Linked DNA regions of Homo sapiens: regions 1, 2 and 3 are each linked to region 4. The links are contacts of gene promoters, found by promoter capture Hi-C in blood cells and fetal thymus (Javierre and others, 2016). All regions are on one chromosome and are shown on one strand. The core of a region is centred on a gene start or on the middle of the fragment in contact, and the rest is flanking DNA. Distances in the headings are between cores, read along the strand shown.

Region 1 (3,223 bases), core at 313-2,812, 340 kb after region 4:
AATGAAAACATTTGTCCCATCCCATGCAAAAATTTGTACACATATGTTAATAGCAGCATTTTGTGTAATAGCCAAAAAGTAGAAACCACCTAGATGTCCATCAACTGACAGATAAATAAAACGTGGTATACCTATACAATGGAAAATTATTGGGTAATAAAAAGGAATAAAGCATCAATATATAACACAACATGAAAGAAGCATCAAAAACATTATGCTTCAAAGATGCTGGTCATAAAAGACTACATATTATAAGATTCCGTTTATATGAAATGTCTAGAATAGGCAAAACTATAGAGACAAAAAGTAATTCAGTGCTTGCCTACTGCTTGGGGGATATGCTGGGGAGGGGGATGTGCTAAAGGCTACAAAGCTTCTTTTTGAGATCATGAAAATACTCTAAAATTGATTGTGATGATGGTTGCACACCTCTGAATATTCTAAAAACTATTGACTCAGATGCTTCAAATGAGTGAATTACATGTTATGTGAATTCTATCTCAACAAAGCTGTTACCTGAAAAATATTACTGTGTAATCATACCAGGGGGTACTTAGAGGTGGATTCTTTGCATGCCGGATTCAAAGCCTTATCAGGCACAAATTCTACCAACCAAATTTCTACCAATTAATTACCTATTAGCTCATTTGTGAAGCATTTCCCCTCCCTATCCTTTCTGGTTTTTGACTCTTTCTAAATGACCATGCATATGAGGCCTCCAATCTCACAAAGCCTACATGCCTAGCTTCTGCCAAGCGTCACTCCATCTAATGTCATTTGTCTCTATAGTAACCAACTAGAAAAGCTGCTATGCTTAGTAATGGCTTTGTACGAGCAGTGGTCTAGCCTAGAGATGTTTTAAAGATTTGAGTCCTCTCTACCGATTACTGTTTTTTTTCCTGGTATTAAAAAGTGAACCTCTGATGAATGAGAGCAGTAGAGGGTTAGAGAGAAAAGGATGGAATATATTATAAAACATGAAGGAAGATGGACTGCAAGTAGAGACTTGAGTTCAAGAGGAAACGAGTTTAGAAAGACCTTGATTGATAAGAGGACTAAGAAGACACAGACAAAAAACTAGGTATAAGAAACAGAAAATAATTATTAGGCATTTCCCTTCAAAATGGTCAAAAACAACATAATGATATACACACCAAGAAACTGTCAATAAATGTAATTACAGTGCTTCAGAAAGCTGACTGATGTAACCTATGGCTATGCAAAAGGTGTTTTACAGTATAGTCCAGCTATGGATAAGGGATCAGATATAGCTTATACCTTCAACAAACTTCTAACACAATGATGGGTAGAAAAGAACACAAAACAGTGAAACTTTTATTAATGACGTGGAGCAGAGAAGGGGAGAGGGTACGCTATGTAACAGACATGGAAACCTTATAAAAAGTATAAGGATGCATTCCAGGATGTGTAGCTCCATCCCCCACACCTTCCAAGGGATGCCTTTTTCAACAGGAGGCTTGACATCTGTAGTACCCCGTGGGGAGCCTCCCCCAGCTTTGCCTTGGCTGGGTCTCCTTCTCTCTCCCAGTATACACCTGGACCAACCTCATTAATGGAGCTTTGTTCCTCAAGAGTTCATTAATCAAGTCATTACTGGAGTGTCCGCCAGCCTGTGGGTTCTTCCAGAAAATGATACCAATCTATTTTTTCTACATACAAAGCCCACTTTAAAATTTACTTGACATGGTAGAGAGTACAAAGGTACTAGGACAGCCATCAGAGGAATGGGTTTCTGAGCAGCAGCATCCTCATTTGTTATATGGGATGATATCTTACCCTCCTGCCATTCCTGTTTGTGAGGCTCAAAAACAGGTATTTTAAAGTTTTTTACAAATTGTCAAGAAAACATTTTTTCTTTTGCCTATTTTAACATAACTGGTTACAGGTGCATCTAACACTTTCTATTTCGCATCATACTTATTTGATTAGTTACCTTTCCTACTGAACCATAAGGTCTTTGTATGTCTTATCTTTGACTATTTCTCACAGAGCCTAGCATAAAAATTTCACATAACAAATGCTCTCTGTATGTATGTAATGAATTATTATTGAAATCATTATTGTACAATTTACTCCATTTAGAAATGTCTATGAACTCCATCAAATCTCTAGTCTATATTTATACAGAAAATTTTATTTAAAACTATCATTAAATTTTGACATCCTATTTCTAATAAATAAAAAGGAGCCTCTTAAACTAACTAAAGACCATATTAAAACAAGCCTTACATGAGGAATTTTTTTAAGTTGGTAATAATACAAATGAGAAGACAATTCAACACAGTGATTACCCGAGGTGGAAATCTAGATTTGAACAAAAGCTAGAGGTTAGTACTTCCATTCCTATGATAACTTTTGCAGTAGACACGGGCTGACACTCAATTTAATTCCTAGTTCTAATGTATTTTAATTTGGCACATTTTGATTTAATTCAATTTTAGTATATTTGAATTCGCTCTTTCATCTTGTTTTGTGTATGACCTCAATTTGACTTCAAGTTTCACTTCTCTGTAGAGGAGTCTTGAATCCATGCAAGTAAGCTGCATCTTGTGTCTTCAGAATTCAAGCTATATGCCCAGTGGTATATACTTCCTCTGAAGAATGGCAACAGCACACCACTCCACATACGCCACACCCTTACTGGCATGGCTAAAGGACCACATCATTTCACCCACAGGAAGTGCTTGGGAACTGACCAATATTTGGATTCAGTAAGATTAGATGCTCAAATAAGCTTAATTCTGAGGGGAAAAATATCTTATAGCTATATTAGGTTGTTAGAGCTGCCATAACAAAATATCACTCACTGGGTGGCTTAAACAATAGAAATTTACTTTCTCACAGTTCTGGAAGCTAGAAATCCAAGATCAAGGTGTTGGCAGGTTTGGTTTATTCTAAAGCCTCTTTGCTTGGCTTGCAAATGGCCACCTTTTTGCTGTGTTTCCTCTGTGTGCGTGTGACCCTTGTGCTTCTCTGTAAATCTAAATTTCCCCTTGTGAGGACGCCAGCTAGATTAGATTAGGGCCCACCCCAATCACCTCATTTAACTTAATCTCCAAATACAGTCACATTCTGAGGTACTAGGGATTAGTGCTTCAACATACGAATTTGGGGGAGACATAATTCAGTCTAAAACAACAACTAACTAGTTTCATGTATTTCTGCCCTAAGCACTAGTTTAGGCTTTGTTCTGTTCATCTTA
Region 2 (3,267 bases), core at 256-2,755, 360 kb after region 4:
CGCTTTATCTGCTATTCTTAGAAGTTAAACTAACAGTCTTAAATATTTCTGGTACTGAAAACAGCTTAAATTCTGAGTGAGAAGCTGAAATCTAGGATTCAGCATTCTTAAAGATACTTAGTATTTTCTGATTTTTCACTGGGAACTATAACAGTTTGGTAACTGGTGATTTTGTGAGAGTGCAGAGTAAATGAAGTTGAACCATGCAAGAAAAATTACATGACAATAGAATAGAATGTTCTCATGTTCTTTCTGATAATAAGGCCGGACTATTTTTCACCCTTGTTGTACCTTCCATTGATCCAATTTGTTATCCCTGAAGCACCTTATATAGCACAAAAGAAACAGGACTGTTTCTAAGAATGAGCCATCTTTAAAAGGTGTAGGAAACCATTAATAATAAGTTGTATTTGACAATTTTTCATTTTCCTTTGAAAACATACCAATCTAAACAACATAGTAGCTTGTTAAATAAAGCATCTTCTGAAGCATTCATTTTCAAAAATGAGGAGATTCTTTCTTTTAGAAAACAGAAGTATAGGAGTTAAATAGTTAAAAAGCCAGATGAATCCCCTCAGATTCTCCGTATCTTGTTTCTGTTAATCTAAAATAACTTCTTTGCTACAGCCCTAGTCGTTACATCTTATTAGTTATATTTAAGGTACTTAACTTGAATTATACCTTTGTATATGAACTTAGCCCTTTAGGAGTACTAACATGAACCATTTTATTAAGCTTCTATTTGTATATGGTGATTTAACTTTCTTAGTGTTTACCATTTGTATGTTTCCTTTTTCCTCTAGCTTCAAAGGAATATTTTGGCATCTAATCCCAGGGTCACAAGATTCCACATTAATTGGGAAGATAACACAGAAAAACTGGAAGATGCAGAGAGCAGTAATCCAAATCTACAGTCACTTCTTTCAACAGATGCATTACCTTCAGCATCAAAGGGATGGTCCACATCAGAAAACTCACTAAATGTCATGTTAGAATCCCACATGGACTGCATGTGACCACCTACCATCCCTTTAGTACAAATTAAGCTATTAAAAATACACAGAACTATTTCCCTGAAATTCCGTAAGTACATAGTCAAAACACAATGTGAAGAATTTGTTTAAAAACATCCTGTAGAAAGTTTATAAGAAAACCAGTATTTGAACAAATTGTGGAATATAAATACAACTATTTTTAAGTAATTTTTTTCTCTAATGTGTTATTTTATTTGTTCTGAAACTAATCTGATTAAAGCATATATATTATTTTCTTCTCCTTTATATGTAATGAAAGCACTTATAAAGAAACAGGAATCATTAGACCAGGTTGTAAAGATGTCTTGGCCTCCCAGACAGTCTTTGGACCACTATTTTACTGGCCTTTGAAAGAACAAAGTTTACTTCAACTAAAATGTTTCTTCCTGTGAAGACATATGGTATCATTTTAATTTAAGGGGCAGATTTCCATTCTTTTTTGGCATGTCCTTAAAAAGAGGATTTGAAATCAACTATATGCTACCAAGAACTTTAGGATCCAATTTTCCAAGCCACCGTGAAGCCTCTTATGGCTACTATTATAGTTCATGAGATGTTGGACAGCATTTGGTTTGTTTGGTAAGAGAAGAACAAATATGGCTAATTGTTAATAAGGTCCCCTGGCTATGGTTTTTGTTCTTATAACAGAGTTTAGAATATCAGAGCATTTCTTGAATCATACATCATTATTGTCCAGTGAATTCAAGACCAAATACAATATCGGGAGAAAATACAAACTCCCTGTGTTTAAGAATAGGGGATTACAATGGCTCAAATTGGTTCATTTGATTTCTAAAAATACCATGACCTTTAAAAATTCTTTTAATAGATCATGTTATTGGCAGTATTTATATAAAAACCATGGATTTAGAAAGGTATATTTAGCTTTATTATAATAGATACGTTACTATTTTGGAAATATATATATTTTCACACCTGTAGTACTCTTCCCCATTTCCTCTGACACTCATGCAGAATGAGATCAGGCATATTTGTGGTTGACATACTCTAGATAGCTTTTCCAACAAATCTTTGAAAAGCAATCTTGGAAAGGAATTCATTAACTAAATGGGGTAAAAGGTTTCTTTTTCTTTGAGAGTTAAGTCCTTCCTCAAAAAATTTTCTTATGCTCCATAAAATTGAGGTAGAATATTTTCATTATTCTTGCAGCTAAGCAAGACAGCCATATGATGCAGGTTATGCAGTGCCTTCATATCTAAAACTTTTATACTGCACTTTTTAAAGCTTTTATGTTGAGGAAAGGAAAAGGGCATTTGTCTAAACATGGATTCTGAGTTGTATATATTTCCTATCATTCTAAAAAAGTGAATTTGTGAAGCAAAGTTTTGCCAGATGTTAAACTTTGAATTTAATATACCAGATTATTAAAATATTGTCCATTAACTAGTTCATAGATTTTAAAAGTAAAATACTTCTGACTGTTAAAACTATATAAAGAAAATCTCATTTGTCTAATTGCAATTAAAAGAAAAATGTTAAAATATTAAAATGAAAATAAAAGCATTACTTTCCAACAAAGAGCTCAGTGGTTAATATAATAGGAACAACATATGTGCTTATTAGAAATAAAGCATATACAGCCAAATCACCAAATAAAGCCATTTACTGCTGAGTTTTTATTCTGACTAATTATAACAATCTATTTGTAGTGACATCAAAGGGTTAGGTTTTTGTATCAAGTTGTAAATGGACAACCAATTTTCACTTAAGCTTGGGACATGCGAACCATTACCTTTTGTTATCTTAAATTTTATCACTCTAAGAATTTTTTTAATGACTGAAAATAGATTTAGACTTCAAACATTAGAAACGTAAGAAACTGTAGCACATAAGTTTTTTTTCCACCCGGTCTAGCGTCATTTGCCAATACTGTATCTGAAGAACTATTTTCCACCCTTTTGCTCATAGTAAATAGCTGTGTCCTAAGAATATAAACATGAACCAATGACTTATGCCACTAAGATGGAGGCATTAAGGGTATTATTTGGGCTGAGAAAACATTCCAGAGGTCTGAAGAAGTATGCATGCATTTATTTGCCCATTCATAACCTTATACAACTTTAGGCTCCCATATAACTATACCCTCTAATTTTAGGATTTGGGGTTTCTAGCTTTCCCAAGAATGTCTATGGCAGCAGTTATCAAAACTTTTTACCATAATCCATGGTATAAAAAACTTAGGGCCGGGCGCAGTGGCTCACGCCTGTAATCC
Region 3 (3,046 bases), core at 73-2,572, 270 kb before region 4:
CCCCATGAACCCAAAGAGAACTTCCAGCTCTCACAAAATCCCATTCTCAGCTCCATTCCCTTGAGGATGACTCCAGCACAATGCTGCCTTCAGGATCTCTTCCCCTCTATCTCCAATCCTTGACAGGAAAAAGAAGTTGCCTTAGAAAAAGTGGCACCATTTAGAGATAGAATCTTCCAAGGTGACCACAGATTCTTTGATGTGAAGCCACTGATTCTTTGATGCCCAGATTCTTTGATGTGAAGCCACTACCTAAAAACACTCAGTGCTCCCCACTGAACAGTGAGAACCCAGGCTCATCGGGGAATCCAGGGCTAAGCTATCATGAGTCCTTTCCTTAGAATCATGCTGGAGTAAGCACCCTTTCCATCCTCAACTTCCACTGCCCCAGAGCTGCAGGTCAGCTGAGCTCCTGCACTGCTGACTTATGCAGGACAGAGCCAGAGACCACTTGGGTACAGAGCCCACCAGTGAGGCCACTCTAGCTGCTTATTTCTGCTCTCCTCCTTCCCTGGCTCCATACTTCCTGGAGTGGGAAGTTTGCCCAATTCTAGGAAATACCTGGGTAAAGCATTTATTTTGTTTTAAATCAACCAAAATTGAGTTTATTTTTATTTATTTATTTATTTATTTGAGACAGAATGTCACGCTTCCCCCAGGCTGGAGTGAAGTGGCATGATCTCGGCTCACTGAAACCTCCACCTCCCGGGTTCTGAGGGATTCTTCTGCCTCAGCCTCCCAAGTAGCTGGGATTACAGGCACCCGCCACCACATCTGGCTAATTTTTGTAGTTTTAGTAGAGACAAGGTTTTGCCATATTGGCCAGGCTGGTCTCGAACTCCTGATGTCAGGTGATCCACCCGCCTCGGCCTCCCAAAATGCTAGGATTACAGGCGTGTGCCACCACGCCCAGCCCAAAATTGAGTTTAAAACAAAAAGAATTTTTAATGAAAAAATATTAATGTGATAGTGAATTACATATATTTACACTCTTATGTTACTTACCTCAGGGGAGTTGAAAATTTCAACCCATAAATCCTTTCACTCTCATTTTCTAACAGTTACACATTTTGCCCATGGTCAAAGTGCAATCTTGACGGCTTCTGTTATAGCTTCCCTCCCTGAATAGCAGAGGGTGGAAATGTATACTGATTCTGTTTGTTCTATGCCATGTTCACTAAACTGCTGGAAAATGTCCTGAAACCAATATAACTTGTGCATGTATTAGCATATATTCATAGACATTAGCCAGGTGTGGTGGCAGGTGCCTGTAATCTCAGCTACTCTGGAGGCTGAGGCAGGAGAATCCCTTAGAACTTGGGAGGTGGAGGTTGCAGTGAGCCGAGATCGTGCCACTTCATATTTGTATAAATCTGATAAGTGAAAATCTGATACCTGGACAGAAGATAGTGGGCTTTGTAGAGAGGGTGTGATCTGGAAGAGACTGATCTCTTTCTTAGAGAAGACTTCTAATTGTGTCAACATAGGCAAACTTTTTATATCAGAACGTGTCTAGAGCACAGATAAACTTTACTAAATCTCAGTTGGAAATTGCATGACTTCTATAAAAATGTCAAAATAGAATAGGCAAGGGAAGCTCAATTTGCCGATGCCAGATTCTTGTTAAGAAAGTTTTAATGATGCTCCCTCTGTTTGTTTGTTTGGTTGGTTCCTAGGGGAAAATAAGCTGGTAGGGGACCTTCTGGTCTTAGGAGGAGCCACACTCTATGGTATTTCTAACGTCTGGGAAGAATACATCATCCGAACTCTGAGCCGAGTGGAATTCCTGGGAATGATTGGTCTCTTTGGAGCATTTTTCAGTGGAATTCAATTGTGAGTAAAAATAACAAGAAATATAGATAGTAGAGGGACTGTCAAGACTTATTCTTACAATTTTTGTTCTTGGGATGTAAAAATCAAGGCTGGAATCCAGACACCAGCTTCCTGTACAAAGGACTTATGTAATCTGCCAACTCAATATCTTTATTAGTAAATCACCTCCAAATTAAACAAGTTTAATATAAATTTTTACAAAACACTTAATGTTTATAAAACATTGTAAATAATTTGCAGGAAAGCATTAGAAGCATTAGGATTGATTCTCTGAAATCCATGAGTGGGTTATTACTTAGAGAAGTAGAAAAACTAAGCATAAATGCCCCAATTCAATGCATTTCCAAAAAGGAACATTCTGTCTACTAGTGACAACCACCAATAGAAAACTTATAGTATAAAATTACCCTTTTATAAATGTGTGATTTTACTGCCCGTGGATTTGCAAGAGTGGACCATATTTCAAATTTATCTCTTAGAATTTAGCATTTCTATTTTCCTTAAAAAGGTGAAGTTATAATACAGACATTCACTAAGCATCACAAAGTCAAAAGCACCAGTTTTGCAATAATTCTACAACTGGAACGTATAAGTCATCCCTGACTATTGCCTCAGAATTTGTTATGAGCATAAGTTTCAATCAAAGCAATTTTCCACCAGTAAAGACCAATATTTTAGCTTCATGAAAGACATGAAGAATGATAGTATAACCTCCAGTCAAATTTTACTGAATCCCTTTCTACAAACAGGTAATTCTGATTTCACCAATCTCTTTCTACAAAGCAAGCACTTTCTAATTGCATGGGTTCAGTGTCTGAAATTATTTATGGAAGATATTTTAGCATCACCTTAAACAGGTTTTACAAATAGGCTGTTTTCAACAATCCACCAAATTTTGGTGTCTTGAGATACTGGTGAAAAACTTCACAGCAAACAAGGCACAGTCTGAGAAGGATTTATTTGGGGTCCATTTTGAAAGTGATGGCATTTTAAAGCTCCTAAATTTTGTGCTTCAGCTTTGTGAAAGGAAAAGGAATTATCTAGTTCAACTATTCATAGCCAACATTTTGTAGATAGATGGCTTCTTTTATGGGTTATTATTCTTGAGTCCAAAAAATATGTTCAGAGATCTAGTGCTCATTTGCTTCAGTTACAGTCTATTAGAGTTGAGTGTTCCCTTTGGGGGACAATGCCACCAAAATAATGGAAGTGG
Region 4 (3,467 bases), core at 706-3,205:
TAAACATGTGGTAACTAGGGCATATTTTATTCTGTCTACGGCAGCTTCTTGGTTTATCCAACTAAGTATTACTAATTCTATTTTCTTAGAATGAGAAGTTCTCAGAACAATGATCTATCACCTAAATTTCAAATGAATGTGTAACTGGTAGACAAACTTAAAGCAGACTTTCTAAAACTATTAACAGTGCTCAAGAATGCATCTATTTACATCTTAAAAATTTCTCAGTTACTATATGCTACTCTAATGAAAGCTATATTCAAATTATAATTTTTTCCCACAGCATGCCAACAGATTAGGAATTATAAACAGACAGATCTGGATTTGAATCCTGTCTATTCTTTAGCAGCTGGTTATCTCTGACAAATTACTGTAAACCTCGTTAGGCTTCTCGGTTTTGTATTATCAATCATCATTGGTAACTGATAGTACTGAGAGATCCTCATTATGTAAGGATTGAAAGAAAAATGGTTGTAGCACTGAGAAAAGTATCAAACATTATTCTGCAATTTCCTTAACTTGGGTTTTACTTTTAAGTTGTAAATTTTCCCTTGGCAATGTTCACAGGATATCTTTGCTAAAATATTATTTTTCAGTTAGTTTTAAGCTGACTCTTTAAATATCAAATGATTTGCTCTAGAGATGGATTTTCTTTCTTTGGAAGAAGCCAAGATCATTTCCATTTAAGGGCATGTAAGCAGCTGCTGCTACACATTTTAGTTACCCATAAGAAAGTGAAGTGGGCTAAGTTCACTCTGTCATAAGCATTTAAAAAATTAAAAATTACAAGTACCTCCTCTAAAATTAAAGAAGAGATTTAAGAATTAATATTTTCGAGTGTGGTGACTTAAGTAAATCTAACATCTAAGACAACAAATTAGATAAACAGAGAAGAGGAGAATGATGCCCGGCTTTACAAAAAAATTATTTCCCCAGTTCTACTGTAAGATAAACTGTTCTAGGAAGTTCAAAATATCATCTCACTTACTAGCATCTCATTTTTATAGTAATTTTCAGGAAAGCAACTGCTAGATTAAATGAGGCACATCCTTTCAAAAACATTACAAAACTTAAATTTCAACACATCAAACCTATAAAGCCTCATTAACTGAGATGTAACTGATTTGGAATCTGTAATTATTTCTTTTTTGCCATAAAGTTGCCCTTAATACTGCATCAGTTTATTAAAAATTTGGTAAGATTGTGTAATAATTTAATGCAATTGTTTTTAAAAAATCTTAAATACTTAAAGTAGCATATTGCTATTTTGGGGGTGTTGTATGTATCAGTTTAAATATAAGTATTACTATTCACAAATATATTGTTAAACTGCTAATTGAAGAAAACACAAATGAATTAAATACATTTATTAGTTCTTTAACTGTAAGATAAAAATAATTTTTTAAAACAAAAAGCAATTAGCCTGATTTTCTCATACTCCTTCTCCCATACACACAAGAACAAGAACAAAATAAGAAAACAGGTATAAAATTTTATTGTGTAAAAATATTTCACTTTCACTAAAAGCTAACATTATGAAGACACGTATTAAAGCAACAGCAGCAAGAATTCAATGAAAGTTGTTTTGCTTATACCTGTGTTTATTTTTCTCATAATTAAAATTCCTGCAGTAACTATTTTAGCTCTTCAACATCTTCACCATTAATATTCAATTATCTCTAAGCCTGAAGATGCATGAATCTTTAACAAAAGCTTTCCACCACCTCAAGTTTACTTATTTTTTTCATTTATCTACCATATACTGTTTTAAATTAAAAACAAAAGATGAAGCACAAAGTGTTAATGACTTTTCCATACCTAAAGTAAGAAGTTCTAAAGTTTGGTTGTGATAAGACTGAGACTGTGGCTAACCAATCGAAACTTCAGAATTCCTATGTGACATCATAAGACCTCCCTAGAACACTTTTTCTCCTCCACCTACTGCAACTGTTCCCATAAACTGGGTGACAGAGTCAGAAAACTCCCCAGCTAAACACCCGTAAGACTTCATACAACACAATACTCTATACTGTGATGATCACAGCTGCCAAGGTAAGAAACAGATTTCGCTGACTTTGGTAATTCTTACTTTCTATAATTCTTAATTCCTATAATTTCTATAATCTGAACTTTTAAAATGAGTTAATTTTATGAATATCAGTTCAATCTTAGGCAATAAAATGACATGACAAAGTGCTTAAATTTATAAATGCTTATCCATTTAGTGACAGGAAAAATGAGACAACTTTGAAATGAAAAAGGTCATATTCATCTTTGATCCTGGTTACTGGTTTGTCATTTAAATTTATCTTTCACTTTTATTTTGCTTTTCAAATGTGAATTTCTGCCAATTAAAAAATCTTCCAATTATGTTACCATATTTGGTAGTAGTGGTTAATTTCTCCATGCAAAAACAATGACTTAATTTTGTTATTTATTGCTCTGCTGAGAAACAGTGCAGAACTGAGCTATTTACATCTGAACTAATATGAATAGTCATTTGACTACAACATGCACATTATCAGCATGCCTATTCCAATATTATCATAATTTCATACAGTGAATAATGAAATGGAGTTTCAGAATATATAATACAAGCTACTTTTAAAGTGCCCTTGAGGATGTTTCCCCTCTAAAGTCCAGTCAACTTTTAACAAACATTTCTAAAAAAATTCCATGCTATTAATAAATTGAGTTACTGATATTAAATTCAATATTGTATCATAAAGAAGTTTAGAAATTTTAAAACAATGTTCACAAACACAAAAAATCTGACGTTAGAGAATAATTTGATACTTTAAAAAGTTATTTTGACACACGAATATTCTTAACTATCTTATTTTCACACAAATTTGATTAAATGGATTTCTGCCTATTAATGCCTATAGTTTTGTCAAGTTATTATCCTCCAGTGGTACTCCATTTCCTCTCTCGGATTTAGAAAGAAAGGAAAAAATAAAATAAATGCCAGGAATGGAGATGCCACAATCAATTTTATGACTTCTGTTTGAATTCTACCCTATTCTTTATGTTACAATCCTCAATTTAGTAAATGAAACGTTTCCTCATTCTTAGATCTCTGTCAGGGCATACAGAAAATTACATATATTTTATTTATTTTGATTTTCATATTTCATATATATGTTAAAATAAAATTTATCTCTAAAATTCTCAATTCCTATGACAAATGTTAATTCTATTGCTCACTACAAATAAGAACTTTGTAACTCTGTAAGCAGCTTTCCTTAAGACATAAAAAAACATAATTTTTGTCTACCACTGAGGTATCCTAATTGTGTCTCCATATCTCTATACTCATATTTTTCCTTTGATAGTACATAAAAGTCATTCAGTGTAGGTGTCTTATGTTATTTGTGCATTTTTATTCAAATATCTATCAAATTACATTCTCACACTTCAAATTGGGTGTTCACGAGTTATTTTATTGTATCAGAATTTTGCTATAT

What was found. Contacts are between HindIII fragments. The CHiCAGO score rates a contact against its expected background, and 5 or more counts as called.
Region 1: a fragment that was not itself captured here is called in contact with the fragment with the promoter of PLN in region 4 in 6 of 17 cell types (fetal thymus, activated CD4 T cells, naive CD4 T cells and 3 more); the score reaches 7.4 in fetal thymus.
Region 2: a contact is called between a fragment that was not itself captured here and the fragment with the promoter of PLN in region 4, in 5 of 17 cell types (fetal thymus, total CD4 T cells, naive CD4 T cells and 2 more). The highest score is 7.2, in fetal thymus.
Region 3: a fragment that was not itself captured here is called in contact with the fragment with the promoter of PLN in region 4 in 3 of 17 cell types (endothelial precursors, erythroblasts and fetal thymus); the score reaches 5.5 in endothelial precursors.

What each region holds. Positions count from the first base shown.
Region 1 is chr6:118,888,587-118,891,809 of GRCh38, forward strand. The region is part of intron 8 of MCM9 (minichromosome maintenance 9 homologous recombination repair factor); the gene reads right to left. Among named protein-coding and RNA genes, the nearest start is that of ASF1A, 4.0 kb to the right of the region's middle. The HindIII fragment of the contact is 2,382 bases long and covers 372-2,753 here.
Region 2 is chr6:118,906,599-118,909,865 of GRCh38, forward strand. The region is part of intron 8 of MCM9 (minichromosome maintenance 9 homologous recombination repair factor); the gene reads right to left. ASF1A (anti-silencing function 1A histone chaperone) reads left to right here. Exons shown (of 4, transcript NM_014034.3): 4 at 804-2,573. The coding sequence ends at 1,016. Among named protein-coding and RNA genes, the nearest start is that of ASF1A, 14 kb to the left of the region's middle. The HindIII fragment of the contact is 1,544 bases long and covers 734-2,277 here.
Region 3 is chr6:118,273,783-118,276,828 of GRCh38, forward strand. SLC35F1 (solute carrier family 35 member F1) reads left to right here. Exons shown (of 8, transcript NM_001029858.4): 5 at 1,677-1,833. Among named protein-coding and RNA genes, the nearest start is that of PLN, 270 kb to the right of the region's middle. The HindIII fragment of the contact is 8,984 bases long and covers 1-3,046 here.
Region 4 is chr6:118,546,341-118,549,807 of GRCh38, forward strand. It overlaps PLN (phospholamban), which reads left to right and starts at 1,956. Exons shown (of 2, transcript NM_002667.5): 1 at 1,956-2,052. The region is part of intron 3 of CEP85L (centrosomal protein 85L); the gene reads right to left. The HindIII fragment of the contact is 6,726 bases long and covers 1,712-3,467 here.